Linked DNA regions of Homo sapiens: regions 1, 2, 4 and 5 are each linked to region 3. The links are contacts of gene promoters, found by promoter capture Hi-C in blood cells and fetal thymus (Javierre and others, 2016). All regions are on one chromosome and are shown on one strand. The core of a region is centred on a gene start or on the middle of the fragment in contact, and the rest is flanking DNA. Distances in the headings are between cores, read along the strand shown.

Region 1 (3,525 bases), core at 862-3,361, 6.8 Mb before region 3:
GATAATAGAAGGCCAACTCATCATTTTAATTTCAGTTTTTTCCTATACATATGTAATTATGATAAAGTGTAACTTATAAATTAGGCACAGTAAGATATTAACAACTAATAATAAAACATTTATAACAACATACAGACAGTCTTGACTTACAATTGTTTGACCAGATTTTTTGACTTCACGATGGGTTTATCGGTATATTAACTGCATGTTCAACTTACAACATTTTCAGTTTACGATGGCTTTGCGATGGCCATCACCCCATCATAAGTCAAGGAGAATCTATACTGTAATAGAAGCTATGTGAATGTGGTCTTTCTCTCAGAATATCTTACTGTACTGTGAAAGCAAAACCAGGGACAAAGTAGGGACTATGGTACATTTAGGATAGAAAGTTGTACTGAATATTTCACAAGTGAAAAATATACTCATTTTTCTTTGTGTTGACTTTCCAATGTGGATTTGGTACAAAAAAATAAAAACCCTCCTTACCAATTGCTGGCTGGGTGCAGTGGCTCACGCCTGTAATCCCAGCACTTTGGGAGGCCGAGGTGGGCAGATCACTTGAGGTCCGGAGTTCAAGACCAGCCTGGCCAGCATGGCGACACCTCGTCTCTACGTCTCTACTAAAAATACCAAAATTAGCCGGGCGCGTAGCCGGGCGTGGTGGCGGGCGCTTATAATCCCAGCTAGGAGGGAGGCTGAGGCAGGAGAATGGCTTAAACCCGGGAGGCGGAGGTTGCAGTGAGCTGAGATTGCACCACTGTCCTCCAGCCTGGGCGACAGAGCAAGACTGTCTCAAAACAAACACACAAACCCCTCATCAGTTGCAATATTTAAGTTGCATTTAATCCTAGCAATTGCAGTCCTGAGATTTGGATAAGAACCAGAGTATGGTCTTCCAGGGCAGCCAAACCAAGCCATTCCATGAACAACAGAGATCACCCTGCTGCAGATGGTCCACAGATCTTTTCTTGTGCATTTCTTCTGGGAACAAATGCAACTGAGGAAGCAGACATATTCTAGGGGGAGAGATCCACAAAAATCCTTAGAGTCATCTTGCCCCACCTCCTTGTTATGGCTTTAGGTACAGCCCTTATGGCTAGGAGATGTAACCTTCCTCAGCCTTTGCGTCTACGTCTACAAAATAACAACTACCTTGCAGGGTGTTATTTAACACTGCGAAAGTGCATTAATAGGCACAGAAAAACAAAAAACAAAAAAGCAAATTGTGCCCTCACTGCGAATTCTCTGTATTCTAGTTAAAAACATCTATAGCTTGGGTGCATGGTGTCCGTGCTGGGCAAGAAAAGGGCAAAATAGATCATGACAAGCCTTAACATTTTCTCACTTCAGTTTCCTCACTGCAATTGATTTTTTTTTTTCTTTCAAGTCGGAGTCTTGTTCTGTCGTCCAGGCTGGAGTGCACTGGTGTGATCTCGTCTCACCGCAACCTCCGCCTCCCAGGTTCAAGCGATTCTCCTGCCTCAGCCTACCGAGTAGCTGGGATTACAGGCGTACGCCACCACGCCCAGCTAATTTTTGTATTTTTAGTAGAGACGGGGTTTCACCGTGTTGGCCAGGCTGGTCTCGAACTCCTGACCTCGTGATCCACCCGCCTCGGTCTCCCAAAGCGTTGGGATTACAGGCGTGAACCATCGCGCGGCCCCTCACTGCAACTGAGGGTAGCGCAGTGGCCGCAAGTTCCAGATCTGGAGTTACTAAATAGCTGGGTTCCAATCCCGGCTCTGCCACTTATTAGCTGTACGATCTTCATTCGTTTCTCAACCTCTCTGGGTCTGAGATTCCCTTAAAGCCGGGGTAATAGAAATGAATAGGATTTCCTAACTAGGACTAGACTTTCTCAATTTCTTGACTCAGAGGGGCAAGGATAGCCTGAAATGGAAAGTGAAGGCCTTCAGGTTCTTCCTAACAGCCGCTCCGAGGAGGGGAAAGCTACAGGAAGAGGGAGGAGACCCAAGAAAGGTCGGACCAATGAGGCAGCGGGCGGGACAGGAGTTCCCGCCTTTGGGCGTCGTGCGCGCGCACCTCGCTCACACGCACACTCGCACGCACGCACGCTGCGGAAGCGCGCGCGCGCGCAGGCCCAGCCCTCGTCGCCGCCGCCATTTTAGCTGTTGGTTCCGGCCGCACCGTGTGGGCTGTAGTAGCGGGAGGGGTGGGGGTCCTCCAGAGTTAAGTGGCTGTCCTCGACTGTGCCCATACAGCAGCCAGCTTTCTTCCTTAATAACTGCCCGTTCGAAGAGTGCGAGGATGTCCAAGCGGCACCGGTTGGACCTAGGGGAGGATTACCCCTCTGGCAAGAAGCGTGCGGGGACCGATGGGTAAGCCAGGCCGGGGGCGCGAGGCGGCAGCTCGGGCTTTGTTGGGGTCCTGGCAGGGAGCGGGCCGGGGCTGGCCTGGCCGAGCGGGTCCTGGAGCCCGAGCCTTTGTTTCTCTCTGGGCTGGGTTCACTAGCGGCGGGTAGGAGAAGCGCGGCGCCCGTTCGGCCCGGCAAGGGCGCGGGGGGTTGCGTGCGACGGGGCCGCTGCCCAGCCCAGTCCGGAGGGTGGAGAGGCCTGCAGTAGCCATGAGGGCGCCTCCTCCCCCAGGCCGAACCGAGCGGGAGTCATTTGCGAGGGCGTCGGGCGGGAGTGAACCGCGGACCTCGTGGCCTCGGTTCCCGAGGAAGGCCTGGAGCCGGAGGAGAGGGTGGGGGAGGGCGCGGTGGGAGTATTCGCTTCCAAGGGCAGCAGGCACTTCCCAGCCAGAGGGGCCGTGGGGAGGGCCTGGGTGGGGGCGCGGCCAGGCACTCCAGACGGGAAAGGCGGAGGGCGGAAAGTGAGAGCAGCGCGTGGATCATAATGTAGGCTGGGATGGGGGTGGCGGGAGTTGAGAGAAGCCAGCAAATAGGGAGTTCTCGGGGGAGGTGGGAGTAGAGGACCTGCCGGGAGAAAGGAAAACGTGGAGTAATATACCTGATGGGCTGGAAGGCTGGTGTTTTGGGGCGACTGAGTTTATAGTTTGGCGGGAGAGAGCGTGCCTTGGTCCATTCAAACACTTCAAAGTAGATACTAGCAAACTTCCGCTCTCTGCCTACGCTCCCGCCATCTCCTGTATTTCCTGCTTTGGTTAAAACTGGTTACTGAACATCGTCCCATGGGGAGGGATTAGAAGGCATTGTTTTTTTTTTTCATCATTTATTTTCTATGCATGTCCCACTTTTCTTCATAAGTAGCTTTTGAAATACAGGGATCATGTTCAAAACGTGTTTTTAGTATTTATGGCGAAACACCGCCCATGTGGAGGTTGAGAGTTGAAATACTTACACAAACTCTTGGTGTTCCAGATTCCTTTCCTTAAAGGTACAGAGGAATTTAGCAGTTAATTTAAGCAATTTCGTGAAAATCATTTCTTGTCCCTTGTGTGTTTTCATTGATGAAGTACAAAGACCTGTTTGGATAATTCAGGCAAAACCCACAAAAGCCCGAGTAGCCAAATACTTTGCATAATTGTATCATTTTATTG
Region 2 (3,315 bases), core at 347-2,846, 6.7 Mb before region 3:
TTTGGAATATTTTCACGAAAGCTTTTTAAATGGTTGTATGTTATTAATTGAAACATTGAGTATATTTGAAAAAAGCGTGTTTCAGATACTGGTCAAGATGTTTTGCATTAGAGACAATAGTTGATTACATAGTGAAGCTAAAATGTCATGTCAATTAAAATGTTGTCTTAATACTATTTATGTAAATAACCCTTTGAAATCGAAAACTAGATTCAAGTTATTTTGCAGTACCTTGATCTGTCTAGGGAGGGGAGATTTCTCTCTAAAAATCAGACAAATGGTTTGGCTTTAGATCTTAGGGGTGGTTTACTGTATTGGTGAGAGATAAACAGCTAGAATTATATTAATGTTTCCAGTTTTAGATTTAATTTTCCCATTTACCCAATTATTTCTCACAAGTTTAGAAATACAGTAGAACCATCAGATGTTAGTTACTAGTCATTTGTTCTTAACAAATAACTTAGATTTGCAATTTTTCCATCTGTAGTACATGAATTCTAAAAATTGAGAACCACACAAAAAAGCTACATTTCAAGCCATAGTCTGCAAATCAACAACCTTTTCAAAAATTTGCCTTTTTATTGTCCAGCTTGGGCATTTTTCTGCCTTTCAGCTTGTTACAGAGCATCAGCATAAGTAAAATTACCTCTAAGGTGTGCTGTTTCAGCTCCCAAAGATATTCAGTGCTTTGATTTAAATGTCAATGGCTTCAGATGGTTAACTTTTATTTCTCATTCCAGATGGATTAATTAATGGGTGTTCTAATATGTTATTGTATTCTTTAATTCAAAAATCTATTTCCTATCTCCACCTCACCCATCCTTAATTTCTGAAATGGGGATGCATTTTGTAATGGATAAAAATGTACTTATATATTTGTTATGTCTAAAAAACATTAAGGCAGAGTTATACACTATAACTGGTAGAATCCTAGAACCAAAGAGAAAAGAGTATGCTGAAGATAAGCATACATCACAGTAGCAAGAGAAGGATCAACAGTTTTAATTTTTGTTTTCTCTCTCCCATTTCACAATAACCCTGTTAGTTTTATTTATCAAAGGTCCTCTGAAATAAATAATGCAATTCTTTGCCATGACTGTCTTTGGCACATGAAAGATGTCACTGTAAAATTTCTTTCATGATGCTACAGGTTGAGCTCTTTAAGTGAGCAACACTAGGCTAGTTGGAAGCTTATCAAGGATTCATCAGTGGAGAAATATCCTTTTGATAATACATGTAATAAAATTACTTGAAGTGCTTAGACTTAGGTCTTGTTTATTAAACATGAGTGGAGGTTTCGGGCATCCTTGTAAACTTTCTTCTGTTTCAGGACTTGCTCATAAATTGCTGAGAGACACGTGTGTCGCAATAAAACTTTGCCGTCTTTAAGTCTGAGGTGCTCTGTGTCAGGCATAAAGAACAATACACAACAATTGTTTGCAGTTATCTTAATCTAAAGCTGTAGTTTCATTGAAAATGAACAGGCCATGACTTTTACCAAATACTTCCAGCCTTCCCTTATCTGATAGACCATCTTTTGGAAACAACCAGGTGGATGTTAATGGGAGAAGTAATTCACTAAAAACAGTTAATTCAAAAGCATTGTTTTGGCATCCAAATCCAAAAGCCTTGTTACTGTTTCTAATGTTGAATCACACTACAGATCTTTGAGAAAGTTGGTAACATTGCAGTTCATTTAAAGAAAATGTTGTGGGTAAATCTCCTTTCTGGTTTATTTAGCTTATTCTTTATAACAATTTTTTTAATTAGAGAACATTCCTGTGTGGGTGATTCATGGTGCCTTCTTTTCTCCCCGCCTTCTACCTTTTTAGATCATGAATCGGTTCAGTGGTGTTATGACAACTTCATTAACTACAGGTCCCTGATGTCCGCAGACAATGTACGCCAGCAGCTATCTCGAATTATGGACAGATTTAATTTGCCTCGTCGAAGTACTGACTTTACAAGCAGGGACTATTATATTAATATAAGAAAAGCTTTGGTTACTGGGTATTTTATGCAGGTATGTAGATAATATGGGAATGAATAACTAAGTATTCATATGACACTGATTTCTATTAACAGTCCTTTGAATCCACTCAAAAGCAAAAGTGAGTTTGTGCATGCTCATAAAAATTTATCTTAAATGTTGGTACATCCAGTTTCTTTGAGTGAATTAATATACTAAGAAATTTTAAGTATTTAATGAGTAACAAATTAATGTACTAAATGGCTAAGGTAGTCTAGTTATACAGGAATCGTTTTTAGAATTATTTTATTAATAGAGCCTTTGTTATACAAAATGGAAACTTTGGCTACTTTCAGATGTGATTAGGCACCTGTTTCTTCAGGAATGTGAATATTGATCAGTGCATTAAAGTTTCTCTGAATCTAGGGCTTAATTGGAAATACATTGTCATAACAGAGTACTAAAAGGAAGCAATTGAGCGGATCCAAAAGTACATACAGTTGGCTTTAGTCTTTATCTAAAAACTAAGCACCTCCAAATTCAAATATTCAAATACGTGGATTTCATTTACAGTCCTCTACAGAGTGATCATTGGTAATTATGACCAAGACCCTTGCGTACTGCAAAAGCCAAAAACGTCTGTTGAGTAGCAATAAAGATGAAACATAATTTAAAAGGTTTTATTTAGTTTAAGTATGCTGTGTTAACGGCTATAAGAACAGAAGTAAAACTTGTCAAGTAAATACTGTGAACAGTTATTTTAAGGTGTTTATAAAATAAGAGAAACTTTGAGAAAAATGCAAGAAAATTTTGTGGTGATAAAATTGAAAACAAATCACCTGATTTGGGATAAGTCTCTTCTATCTCTTTTCTGTTTGTTCATTCTCTCTTTGGCTGTGTCTTTTAAGCACGATGTGGCTTACCCTTAAGGCCAGATGGGCTCAGTAGCTAGAATATGAGCCTGAGGACACTCAGTTTCAGAATCAAAAATCAAAGGAGATTGGTGAGATGTCTGTATTTGAATCTAAGTAACACAGTGTTTATTGTGGCATCTTATTATATAATAGGCTTATTAGAGTTTGGTGAATGATAGGTATGAGCATTCTTTCTTGAAACTCTTAACTATATTCTTAATATTTGATATGTTGTACTGGCTTCTCTTTGACATGTTCTGTTCTTTTTTAGGGGGAGGGGATGGGGTGAGGGAGGCAATGTCTCACTCCCAGGCTGGAGTGCAGTGGTGCAATCACGGCTCACTGCAGCTTTTACCTCCCTGGGCTCTGGTGATCCTCCCACCTCAGACTCCTGAGTTCCTGGGACTACAGGCACGCACCACTATGCCTAGC
Region 3 (3,657 bases), core at 829-3,328:
GAATGCAAGAAGTTACAACAACAATTCATTTCCTGAAGAGAACCTATAATGCTACCTTGGTCCATATGTATAGCAAATATATATATTTTATACAGTCTCAAAATGAACAGTCTGAAAGAAGTCTTTGCTAAGTTACATAGTCCTCTTTGTAGAGGCTTCTAAAATACAGAACTCATTTAAAATAAACAAAGGAGAACTGGTTTAAAGAGGTCATTAAAAATTTAATGCTGGAGTTAAAGTCCACTTTTTAATCATAATGATAATTCTAATATTTCCTATGAAAGGTAGACTCATTCAGGTTTTTTCAATCACTAGATATTTCATTGTCAAAAACATACAAACTCCCACGACTCTTTTAAAGTGGCAAAATTTTCTAAAATCCCTCCCCAAAGCTATCATTTTCATAGTACCTTTAAGAGAAAAGTAAACAAATAATTTAAAAGGCCACCATCTTCCTCTTCCTCATCATCTTCCATATCTGATTGGTGAAATGAGGTAACAAACTTTGCTGCAAATTCTATTACCCTCTCCACAGCTGGTTCACGTTTATAGACCACCATAACATATTTAAGGTAATGAATGAACTCCTCATGAAAAACTGTCTTATCATCCATCTGAAAGACAAAAGAAACCCTTCATAAACTGCACCGATAAAAATCCTTTATTCCCAACATCACCCTAAGACTGATGAAAGCACTAGCCATAATAATGCAGACAAATTAAAATATTTATTTAGTAAACTCTTAATTATCCAAACCAGCCAAAGGGCAATCAATTTGCATGAATTTCTCTCCAGGCTATAATGGGAGTACACAAGCTTGACTTTTGACAGTGAAAAGATTCCTTTGATATATTTTTTTCAATATCTTTGATTCTCAATAAGCCTTTAGTACCAGTACGTTACAAATACGCTTCTTCAACAACCCAAAATCAATACTGGCTTTTATATTTCTCATATTCAGGCCTTCCTATCACCAGCAGTTTCTTTATGAGATAACTTGCACATCCTATCTCATATCCTCAAAGCCCTGTGATGTTTACTCACAATTTTTCTTGGACCTCAAGATAATTCATCTTCCCCAAATTAATTGTTCTATTCTTCTCAAGGTTCCACTCAAAACAAACAAATAGTATGTACATAAATAAGAATGGCCAGGCCCTAAAAATAATTTGGTATTTGGTGATTGGATTCAACGTAACCGTAGGACAAGGGTAGAATCATTTGATGTTCGGCGGGGAGCGATGACCCCAGGGGCAACGACCACTGAACCCCCGCATTCAGGATCCACTCTGCGGTTCAATATTTGATGTCTGATCGCCTCGGTGGTCGTAAATGTTTCTCTCCACGTTCACGATCGGACTAAGGAATAACGGTCCACGCCGCCCAGAAGCTGGGGGTGTCGGCTCAGAAAAGCCAAGGCGGGGCCCGTGTGAACGACGCCCAGGCTTCGGAGGCTTTCTGGCCTGGGCCCAGGCGACCTCGGGTAAGTCCCTGACTTCTCCGAACCTCAGATCCCTATGAAGTGAGTCGCGAAGGTGAACAAGGCTGGAGTCACGGTGCGCCGAGCCCGAGGGCCACGGAGGGCCCCTGAGGGAGGGTGGGCCGGGGCGGGCGAGAGGCGGCGGCCGGGGCCGGGAGCGCTTACCGTGCGGTAGGTGCGGCTCAGCGCCACCACCAGCTTCGCCTGGTTCTGGTGCGGCTGCTGCGCCAGCCGAAAGGCCTCCTTAATCGACAGCAGCCTCCTTTCCGCTCCCATGGCTCTGGAACCCTGCCGGGACGAGTCCTGCCCGCGCTCGGCTACAGCCTGCCAGCCCGCCAACCCAGAGGCAGCGCTCTCCGAGTAGTCTTCTATGACAGCCCCAGGGAGTATTTACCGCTCGAACGTTCAAATAATTCCCGCGAGAGGGGGAAATCCCGCGAGACTGCCGTAAGCGCTTTGGGAGAAGAGAGCGGGAAGCGATGGGTCCACCCACCTCGCACCCCGCGCTTTGGGCGCATGCGTCTAGGTTCAACCTTGTCCAGCCGTTTTCACGGAGGGAAGTGGCGTTTCTAAGGGGGAGGGGCCTTGACTCGGCCGGAAGTAGCGTCGGCGCGGGAGCTGAGCGGAGTGGCCTTGCCACCGGAGGGGAAGGGCTGCTGGCGTTAGGCCTGGCTGGGTCGTGCGGCTGAGCGTGAGGCTAGAAAGAAAAAGCGATCCTCCAAGAGTGAGAACGGGAGATCTGCCGAGGATAACAACCTCCCTTGTGGCCGAAGGGCGGGGGATCCCCACACGAGGGCTCCGCTTCGAGAGACGGCGACAAAGGAAAGTTCGTAGCGCGTTCCGGAGGCCCGGCCACCTCTGAGAAGGGAGACGACGCTGCTGGGTCCGCTGAGCGGGGCGACCCGAGGTTAGTGGAGACGGATGCTGTCTTTTGAAGGCCTTAGTCCCTGCCCTGGTGAAGCCGACTGCGAGGTTCCACAGGGCGTGCAGGCAGTCCGGGGATCGTTGCGAAGGGGGGTGCGGGCTAACTTAGCTGCTGCCGTTTCTAGATGTGCAGCTGTGTAGGCCCTGTTTACAAGTGTGCATAAGGACAGTGTATTAAGGGAGAACTCAAGAGAATGGAAAGGTCTTTCGGGTAGTGGTTAAAATAAAGAAGAGTAGGAACTAGGTTTTTAAATTTTAAATGAAATTATATCAGACAGAACTTCTGTTGGATCTCAGGATGCACCATCCAAAAATAGGACTGTAGGAGACCAAAATATGCCACCCTACAATATACTTCTAGAGTATATTTTGAGCTGGTATTCTGATAAAATGCAGACACAGGAGTCGCTCTGAAAATCTGTCCTGTTGTAAAAGAAATTGACATCTACAGAGGAAATATACATCAGTAAAGGATCTGTATCAGAAAGAGGGCAGCTCTGCGATAATTTTTGTTACCTGGGAGATCTTATCTGCATACCAAGACAACTTTTATTCACCGTATATTTCCTCCCCTCACCTTTCCACAACTTTGTGGCCACCATCCCCCAGAAAGCCGCAAGCCCCCATTTCTTGAGTAGCGTAGGATGCTGTATAATATTCAATCATCTGACCATGGTGGGACTCCTCTGCGTATGTAATTAAGTACGGGTTTTTTTTCTTGTTAATGTCTATGTCAGGTTAATTTGTAACCCAGCCAAAGAACCTAGGAGGATGGAGGGAAGCCGTTTTTCCCTCTCCTACACCTCAGTAACCTACTGCCAGCTGAAGAAATAGAACATTACTAAAGCCACCTGTACATCTTTCTCCTTTTGAATTACCTGCCCTCCGAAGAAGTAATGGATTTTCTGAATTTACTGTTAACTTTTACCATGCAGCTTTCTATATCTTAATGACATATTTTAATATATTAATGACATGAATAAATCCCTGAATGAGGATATTGTACTATTTTGCATGTTTTAACCGTTAAATGAATAATTATATGTGCATCTGGCTTTTTTCAATCAATATTGCTGTGGTTCATATTGATATGTTCATAATAGTAACTTGCACTTAATTAACCTTTATTATGTGCCAGACACCATGCTAAGCACTTTACTTCGTTTACTGCTCACAAACCCTGTAGGATAACTTTGATCTTCTTTTAAGATGAGGAAACTACGGCACAGACAGGTTGCTATAGTACTCCATT
Region 4 (3,615 bases), core at 742-3,241, 6.7 Mb before region 3:
CTGTAGTGCAGTGGTGCAGTCTTGGCTCACCGCAAGCTCCGCCTTCTGGGTTCACGCCATTCTCCTGCCTCAGCCTCCCAAGTAGCTGGGACTACAGGTGCCCGCCACCACACCCGGCTAATTTTTTGTATTTTTAGTAGAGACAGGGTTTCACCGTTTTAGCCAGGATGGTCTCAATCTCCTGACCTCGTGATCCACTCTCCTCGGCCTCCCAAAGTGCTGGGATTACAGGCGTGAGCCATCGCACCCGGCCAGATGTAGCGTTTCTAAGCTTCTTTTCAATAGGGTGTTTATAGGTGTGCTGTGGAATACCTGAGTGGCTAAATAAATTCAGAAGCTATTTGGATAATACAAAGTTTTAAAAAGCCTTTTACGAAAGGGTTTTTCTTTTTCTTTTTGGGGGTGGGGAGGGAAGACAGAGTCGCGCTCTGTCAACCAGGCTGGAGCGCAGTGGCATGATTATCGGCTCACTGCAACCTCTGCCTCCCGGGTTCAAGCGATTCTCTTGCCTCAGCCTCCCAAGTAGCTGGGATCACAGGTGCCCACCATCACACCTGGCTAATTTTTTTTTAATTTTTAGTAGAGACGGGGTTTCACTATGTTGGCCAGGCTAGTCTCGAACTCCTGACCTCAGGTGATCTGCCCTTCTCGGGTTCCCAAAGTGCTGGGATTATAGGCGCGAGCCACCACACCTGGCCCCAAAATGCTTTTTTGATGGCATATAAACAGCATTTGTGCTGTAATGTAGTATTGAGGCTGTTGGGATAATCGTTTTGTCCTCTTGTGTCTGGTCTCTAGTTTCTCATTTCCTCCAAAGTGCATAGTATATTTTTATTTTTATTTATTTTGTTTTATTATTTATTTATTTGAGATGGAGTTTTGCTCTTGTTGCCCAGGCTGGAGTGCAGTGGCGCGATCTCGGCTCACCGCAACCTCTGCCTCCCAGGTTCAGGTGATTCTCCTGCCTCAGCCTTCCGAGTAGCTGGGATTACAGGCATGCGCCACCATGCCCAACTAATTGGTATTTTTGGTAGAGATGGGGTTTCTCCGTGTTGGTCAGGCTGGTCTTGAACTCCCAACTTCAGGTGATCCACCCGCCTCGGCCTCCCAAAGTGCTGGGATTACAGGCGTGAGCCACTGCACCTGGCCATATTTTTATTTTTTAAATCACTATTTAAAATTGTCATCATTCTCAGATAACATAAGCGTATTGAGATTCTATCAGAAATATCAAATGGCCTCATGGTTAAGGACCCGAAAGGTTTTTCTCTGAGACAACTTTGTGCGGTATTTTCTGTGAATCCCACAGCTGGGGAAAGGAAGGGAGTAAGCCGAAGGGTTTTCAGATGTATGCTAGAGTGTCTTTCATGAAATAAAATGCTGCTCTAGTTGTCAGCTGTTTTTTTGCATACCATTGCTTCTTTAAGTTATCTTTAGATTCCCAGTCTTGAATTTGAAGAGTTTTGGGGAGAAGGTAGCAGAAAACCTAACGTTTTGTTTACATTTCATTTGTTGTATTTAGTAGTAGAGCTGGTCTAAAGTAAATATTACCTTCTCATTTTTGTGAACCTTCATTATTTTTACTTGGTAAGTTAAATGCAACTGCGAAATCAGTACTCCTTTCTTCATAAATTTGAATAGCCTCCATGAAATTGAGTAATCTCATAAAAATTTAAAACTGGTTTTTAAGAACATATTCTGACCACTAAATAAAAGTGCTTCTGTAGTCACATGAGTTAATTTGGGAGGGAGAGAGAACAGTTTAAAGTGTTGCCTAGATAGTAATTAGATAAGAGTGATTGTAATTAAATAATTTTATTTTTAATTTTGCTTAGTAAATTTTTTTTTCAACATGCAGTGAGTTAATTGGTAAGGTCCAGATTAATTTACTAACATATTGCTGCTTTTGGAGTTAAAAATCTTTTCTCAAATCAAAAACTCCTGAACTGTCTGTCTTTATTCTCAGTATTGCTAATGACTAAGCAGATGGCTGCTGTTGAAACTTCTTTTCCTCCACTACCTGTTTCTGTTTATATTCTGATGAATGCAGATAAGTTTTGTGGCATTCTCAGCTGATAGTGTTGACTTCTTGGAAGTTTGGCAAACCTCAGGGAAAATTTTTATTGCAAGTTTTAAAGCTGTTTAGGACTTTATCTAAAAACTTAAGTGTTACGGGATTTCTTCCACATTTTAGAGATGCCTTTATATCCTACATAGTCATCATTTTGTTTTAGCTCCTTGCATACTTAGCAGATTGGGTAGTCTAATCTCCAGTAAAGTTGGAATTGTCATTTTAAAATACTGGAATCACAAAGCAAATGTCTAATTTAAGCACTTAATTTTTAATGTGTGAAATCTGGATATTTTGTGATTTCTGAGCATTTATTTTTCATTTATGTACAGTAAAATTAACAAAATTGCAGATACTCTTAAATGTTGGAATCCTAGTTTTATATTATGTTCAAATGTTTTTTAAGTTGGAGAGCTCTTAATTTTTTATTTGCATGCCAGCAGGGGGCATTCTAATCTAGATACAACATTTGAAAGCAGTATTTTCAAAAAATATTTGTTCGCTTTGTTATATTTTTTATTTAGATGAATAGCATCTACTTTCATTTTCTTTTAGAAACTTGAGATTTCAAAGGAGGATCTAGTAACATTGAATCTTTAATAGTTTTCTGTGTCACAATTTTTGAGACAGATAACCTTTAAAAAAAACTGATGTGTTTGAAATAAGTGAAAAGTAATTTATTTGTTCTTACTGTGTTTAAGAACGTTGTGTTTTTTGATATAGAGACACAGTTGGACATTAAAAAAATATAAAGTAAATGTCCTAAAATTCTTCCTCACCGTTTAGTATCATTGTCCTTTGAAAAAAACACGCACTTTGTTGACAAGGGTAGCTTCTGATTGGGTCATTTATTGGACAGGCTGCCTAGTGTATAATAAGCGTTTTACATACTTCTGGGTTTAATTGAATTAATACTTCAATAAAATTTAGAATACATTTGTCCGCAGTGCTGCCTTCCATTTTTAAGTTCCTTTGCCTCTCCCAGAGCTATCATACATAATCTGTCTCTCTCTTTTTTTCCGTCTTGATATTCATTATGTCTCCTCTTGAATGCACATGTGTTAGAATATAGTCATGTGCCACATAACAACGTTTTGGTCAAGACAAACTTCTCAGATAGCTGTGGTGCTGCTCCCGTAAGATTATAGTGGAGCTGAACGTAACCTTGCAGCATCACAGCACAACACATTACTCACTGCTTTGTGATGATGCTAGTTCAAACAAACCTACTTTGCTGCCAGTTGTTTTAAAAGTACTATATAGTATGTACAATTATGTCCAGTACATAATAATAATGATAATAGGACATTGTTAGTGGTTTTTGTATTTACTATACTACATGTTTTATCATTATTTTAGAGTGTTCTCCTTCGACTTAAAAATGTTAACTGTAAAACAGGCTTAGGCAGGTCCTTCAGGAGGTGTTCTAGGAGAAGGCATTGTTATCACAGGAGATGACAGCTCCATGTGTGTTACTGGCCTTTGGAGACCTTCCAGTGGGTTAATACGTTAAGGTGGAAGATAGTGATATTGATGATCCTGAC
Region 5 (3,228 bases), core at 69-2,568, 6.3 Mb after region 3:
AGCAATTCAATGAGCTTTAGGAGTTTAAACAAATTGAAGTTTCTATTAATAGCTAGCAATTACTGTGTGCCCATGCTTTGCTATGGATTGTCCTAGGCAGATCACTGGCATTCTTTCTAAGCTTTTTCGTAGCTGTAGGTGTGGAAATTGTGTTTTCATTTTCATTTTGAGATATGAGGAAACTGAAACAGGATATGCACCCCACAGGAAGTGGCAGGGTCATAGATTTGAATTCAGACCTGGCTCACGTCTCCGCACAATAGAATGAGACAGTGCATGTGATGCCAGACAGGAAGAGGTAAGGTTCCAGCCTTTAGGGGCTCGTAGGGGCTCACAGCCCATAGGGAGAGTAGAGAGGGAAGACAGACAAGTAATTGGGTACATAGTGTGGTGTGGTAAGCAAAGTTAAATATAGTTAATTCTTTTTTTTTTTTTTTTTTTGAGATAGAGTCTCACTCTGTCACCCAGGCTGGAGTGCAGTGGCGCGATCTCGGCTCACTGCAACTTCCACCTTCTGGATTCAAGCAATTCTCCTGCCTCAGCCTCCCACATAGCTGGGACTATAGGTGTGTGCCACCCGCCTGGCTAATTTTTGTATTTTTGGTAGAGATGGGGTTTCACCATGTTGGCCAGGCTGGTCTTGAACTCCTGACCTCAAGTGATCCCCGTGCCTCGGGCTCCACAGTTAAATTCTTCTAAACTTAATTAGTAGAACACCTACTGGAGGTTGTTGTCATGCCAATCTCTTCTGCTACTAGAGACACATGTCCTGTCCTCCCAGAACTTACACTGAAGTGGATGTGACTGATGCTACAGTACATAACTGCTGAGGTAGCACATAATAGTGAAATTTTATCCAGACTACGAGGCTAAGGTTGGCTTCCCAGAGGGGATGTGAGTGTTGCCTTACTTGATTTTCAGAGACAGAATAGCCTGTGAAATTTCATTCATCCCTGAGTTCTAAAGACTTGGCATACAGGAAATTCACTAGCTGTTGAATCTGGAAAAATGATATACATGTTTTCTCTACTGTGCAGAGTCTATACTATTCTTGAATGAATGAATGAGTGAATGAGTTCCCTTCTGTGATTCCTAAGGAACCCAGGGCAATGAGGTCTTCCAGGATGTCAGCCTCTCTGTCATCCTTCCAGGTCACAAGAAAGAGCCAGCAGGTTTCAGCAAGCCGTTCCCTGGCTGATCTGGTGGTGAGAAGAATTTGGGGGTGGCGGCATGGTGACTAGCCACAGCCAGGGCAATTCCTGCACTCCCTGGCTTCCGTGTCTAGCTTTCAGGTTAGAGGAAATGCTTTATCAAGAAAAGCTACTTTGTTCTCTCTTGTTCTCTTTTATTTTTTTCCGAGTTACTCATCACTTTTTCAGTCCCTTATTCTCAGAGGAGAAAACAAAGCCACCTTCTTGAAGCTGTACCTTAGGTATTATTCTTGCCAATGCCTTGCAAAGCCAGCAGCCCAAGTGCTTTGCAGGTCAGATACAAGGGCCCTTTACCTTCAAAGATTAAAATCAGCATAGCAACAAAACATGAGGCTCTTGGTTTTACTCAGTGCTTTTCTTACATGGTCTCATTGCATTCACAGAGCAGTGTTACAGAAGGTTAGAGACCCTTGGAGATAAAACATGTAGGGATTTCCACTCTTTTTGGTGATGCCCCAAGAACCTGGGAAGGAGTGTCAGAGTCTGCCCTCTGGGGATGGGGGCTCCCTCCAGGGGCGGGAAGCCCATCTGGCTCATCTCTCTGCCCTTGGCTCAGCTGACCATGCAACTGCAGCTGCTTGCTTGGGCTTGTTTCATGCATGACAGTTTCAGTTACCTTTCACTTGAGAAATAGATCTCCCTGCTAAAAGAAAAAAAAAAAAAGAAAGAAAGAAAATGTTTGAAGACTACTGATCAGTTTCAATACCTTCATACTGTCCATAAAAACACACAGGCCCGTGTTGCACTGGCCGTCCCTTCGCATCTCACTCTCAGCGCCTCAGTGAGCTTTCTCAGCTGTGCTACGACAATGAGCATTTGCAGACCTCTTTTCCATCTTTCAAATTGTTGGCATCTCTCAACTATTCACATTGGTGGATTAATATGTTAAATACCTTTCATTGTTATTCTAGTGGAGTTTAAGGAGGAAGCAGCAATAGAATATGTATATGTATATACATATACATATACATATACATATACATACATATACACGCACACAGAAAGAGACAGAGAGGAGGGTTTTACCTTAGTCAGGGACTCCTCTCATTGCCTGAAATATTCTTCAGAGACTTGGAGCTCCAAGGTCTTGAGGAAGGCACCACAGTGAGTGGTGGAGTCGAAAACTGGAGGATTTGGTTGAATATTTCTATCAGTAGCACCTGGACTCTTTCCTTTCCCCTGCCAACCAAACATCCAAGCACCTGTCCTTTCTACTATGTCAAGAAAAGGGATTTTGTTTTGTGGAGACTTGAAACAGGAATTCTCTACCCTACTTAGAAAGAATAAGATTAAGTAAAGCTTCAATATCCCAAGGGAAATAAAGAAGCTATTGAAAATAAAAAAATAGAACAAAATACCATTAAAAGCATAATTAGAGAAGAGCATTAACACTTCTCTCCTTAAGGAAACATTGTTAACTGTTTTATAATTTGTATACCTTTTTTCCCAACAAAAAGTGTGCAATTGTTGTTAATAATAAAAGACTTTTGGTCATGATAATTAAAAAACAAAAAAGTAAAACAAACAAAAAAACCACAGGCCCAGAAAGGGACAATCACTTGCCTAAAATCACAGATCCACTTAGTACTTAAAGGCAAAGAAGGAACTAAGTGTTAGTCTTGGGTATCACATCAGTTTCTACTCCAGGACATGCAATTGCGGTACCTGGCTCAGGTGACCACAGTGAATGTAAATACCCAATGATTGGCCCAAGAGGAAAGGAAAACAATTTAAAAAATTCCTGACAGCTGCATTTCTGGAATGTCCCCACTCCTTCCTCATGCACCTGTTGCTGCCTGAACTTCTGACACTGAGTGGTTACCGGAGGCCTGGCGTCTCCTTAGAGCACTGCCACTGGCGCTGATGAACCAACTGAGGCAGACACTTTTACCTCCCTGAGCCTCACTTTTCTCCACCAGAAACTGGTTTAGGGGACAATAGCTTAGTACTGTCTCTTCTGGCTTCTATGTTCTTCTGGTTAAGAAAAAACTAACAACATTTCCCCCTGTCCTGACTT

Evidence for each region. The method cuts DNA at HindIII sites, captures the fragments that hold promoters and counts their contacts. A CHiCAGO score of 5 or more calls a contact.
Region 1: a contact is called between the fragment with the promoter of DHX15 here and the fragment with the promoter of DCAF16 in region 3, in 1 of 17 cell types (fetal thymus). The highest score is 6.1, in fetal thymus.
Region 2: a contact is called between a fragment that was not itself captured here and the fragment with the promoter of DCAF16 in region 3, in 1 of 17 cell types (fetal thymus). The highest score is 5.4, in fetal thymus.
Region 4: a contact is called between a fragment that was not itself captured here and the fragment with the promoter of DCAF16 in region 3, in 1 of 17 cell types (non-activated CD4 T cells). The highest score is 5.9, in non-activated CD4 T cells.
Region 5: a contact is called between a fragment that was not itself captured here and the fragment with the promoter of DCAF16 in region 3, in 1 of 17 cell types (non-activated CD4 T cells). The highest score is 5.0, in non-activated CD4 T cells.

What each region holds. Positions count from the first base shown.
Region 1 is chr4:24,583,140-24,586,664 of GRCh38, reverse strand. DHX15 (DEAH-box helicase 15) reads left to right here and starts at 2,111. Exons shown (of 14, transcript NM_001358.3): 1 at 2,111-2,342. The coding sequence starts at 2,272. RefSeq lists an enhancer at 1,673-2,212 and silencers at 2,393-2,512, 2,523-2,602, 2,803-2,852. The HindIII fragment of the contact is 7,218 bases long and covers 1-3,525 here.
Region 2 is chr4:24,531,572-24,534,886 of GRCh38, reverse strand. DHX15 (DEAH-box helicase 15) reads left to right here. Exons shown (of 14, transcript NM_001358.3): 12 at 1,833-2,023. Among named protein-coding and RNA genes, the nearest start is that of MIR573, 13 kb to the right of the region's middle. The HindIII fragment of the contact is 807 bases long and covers 1,193-1,999 here.
Region 3 is chr4:17,809,178-17,812,834 of GRCh38, reverse strand. DCAF16 (DDB1 and CUL4 associated factor 16) reads left to right here and starts at 2,078. Exons shown (of 3, transcript NM_017741.4): 1 at 2,078-2,388. It overlaps NCAPG (non-SMC condensin I complex subunit G), which reads right to left and starts at 1,856. Exons shown (of 21, transcript NM_022346.5): 1 at 1,647-1,856; 2 at 411-614. The coding sequence starts at 1,757. RefSeq lists enhancers at 1,385-1,897, 2,171-2,330, 1,898-2,409, 2,451-2,540. The HindIII fragment of the contact is 3,530 bases long and covers 820-3,657 here.
Region 4 is chr4:24,550,575-24,554,189 of GRCh38, reverse strand. The region is part of intron 5 of DHX15 (DEAH-box helicase 15); the gene reads left to right. Among named protein-coding and RNA genes, the nearest start is that of MIR573, 32 kb to the right of the region's middle. RefSeq lists an enhancer at 432-1,000. The HindIII fragment of the contact is 3,436 bases long and covers 274-3,615 here.
Region 5 is chr4:11,468,841-11,472,068 of GRCh38, reverse strand. No RefSeq gene overlaps it. Among named protein-coding and RNA genes, the nearest start is that of HS3ST1, 42 kb to the right of the region's middle. RefSeq lists an enhancer at 1,698-1,887. The HindIII fragment of the contact is 2,389 bases long and covers 124-2,512 here.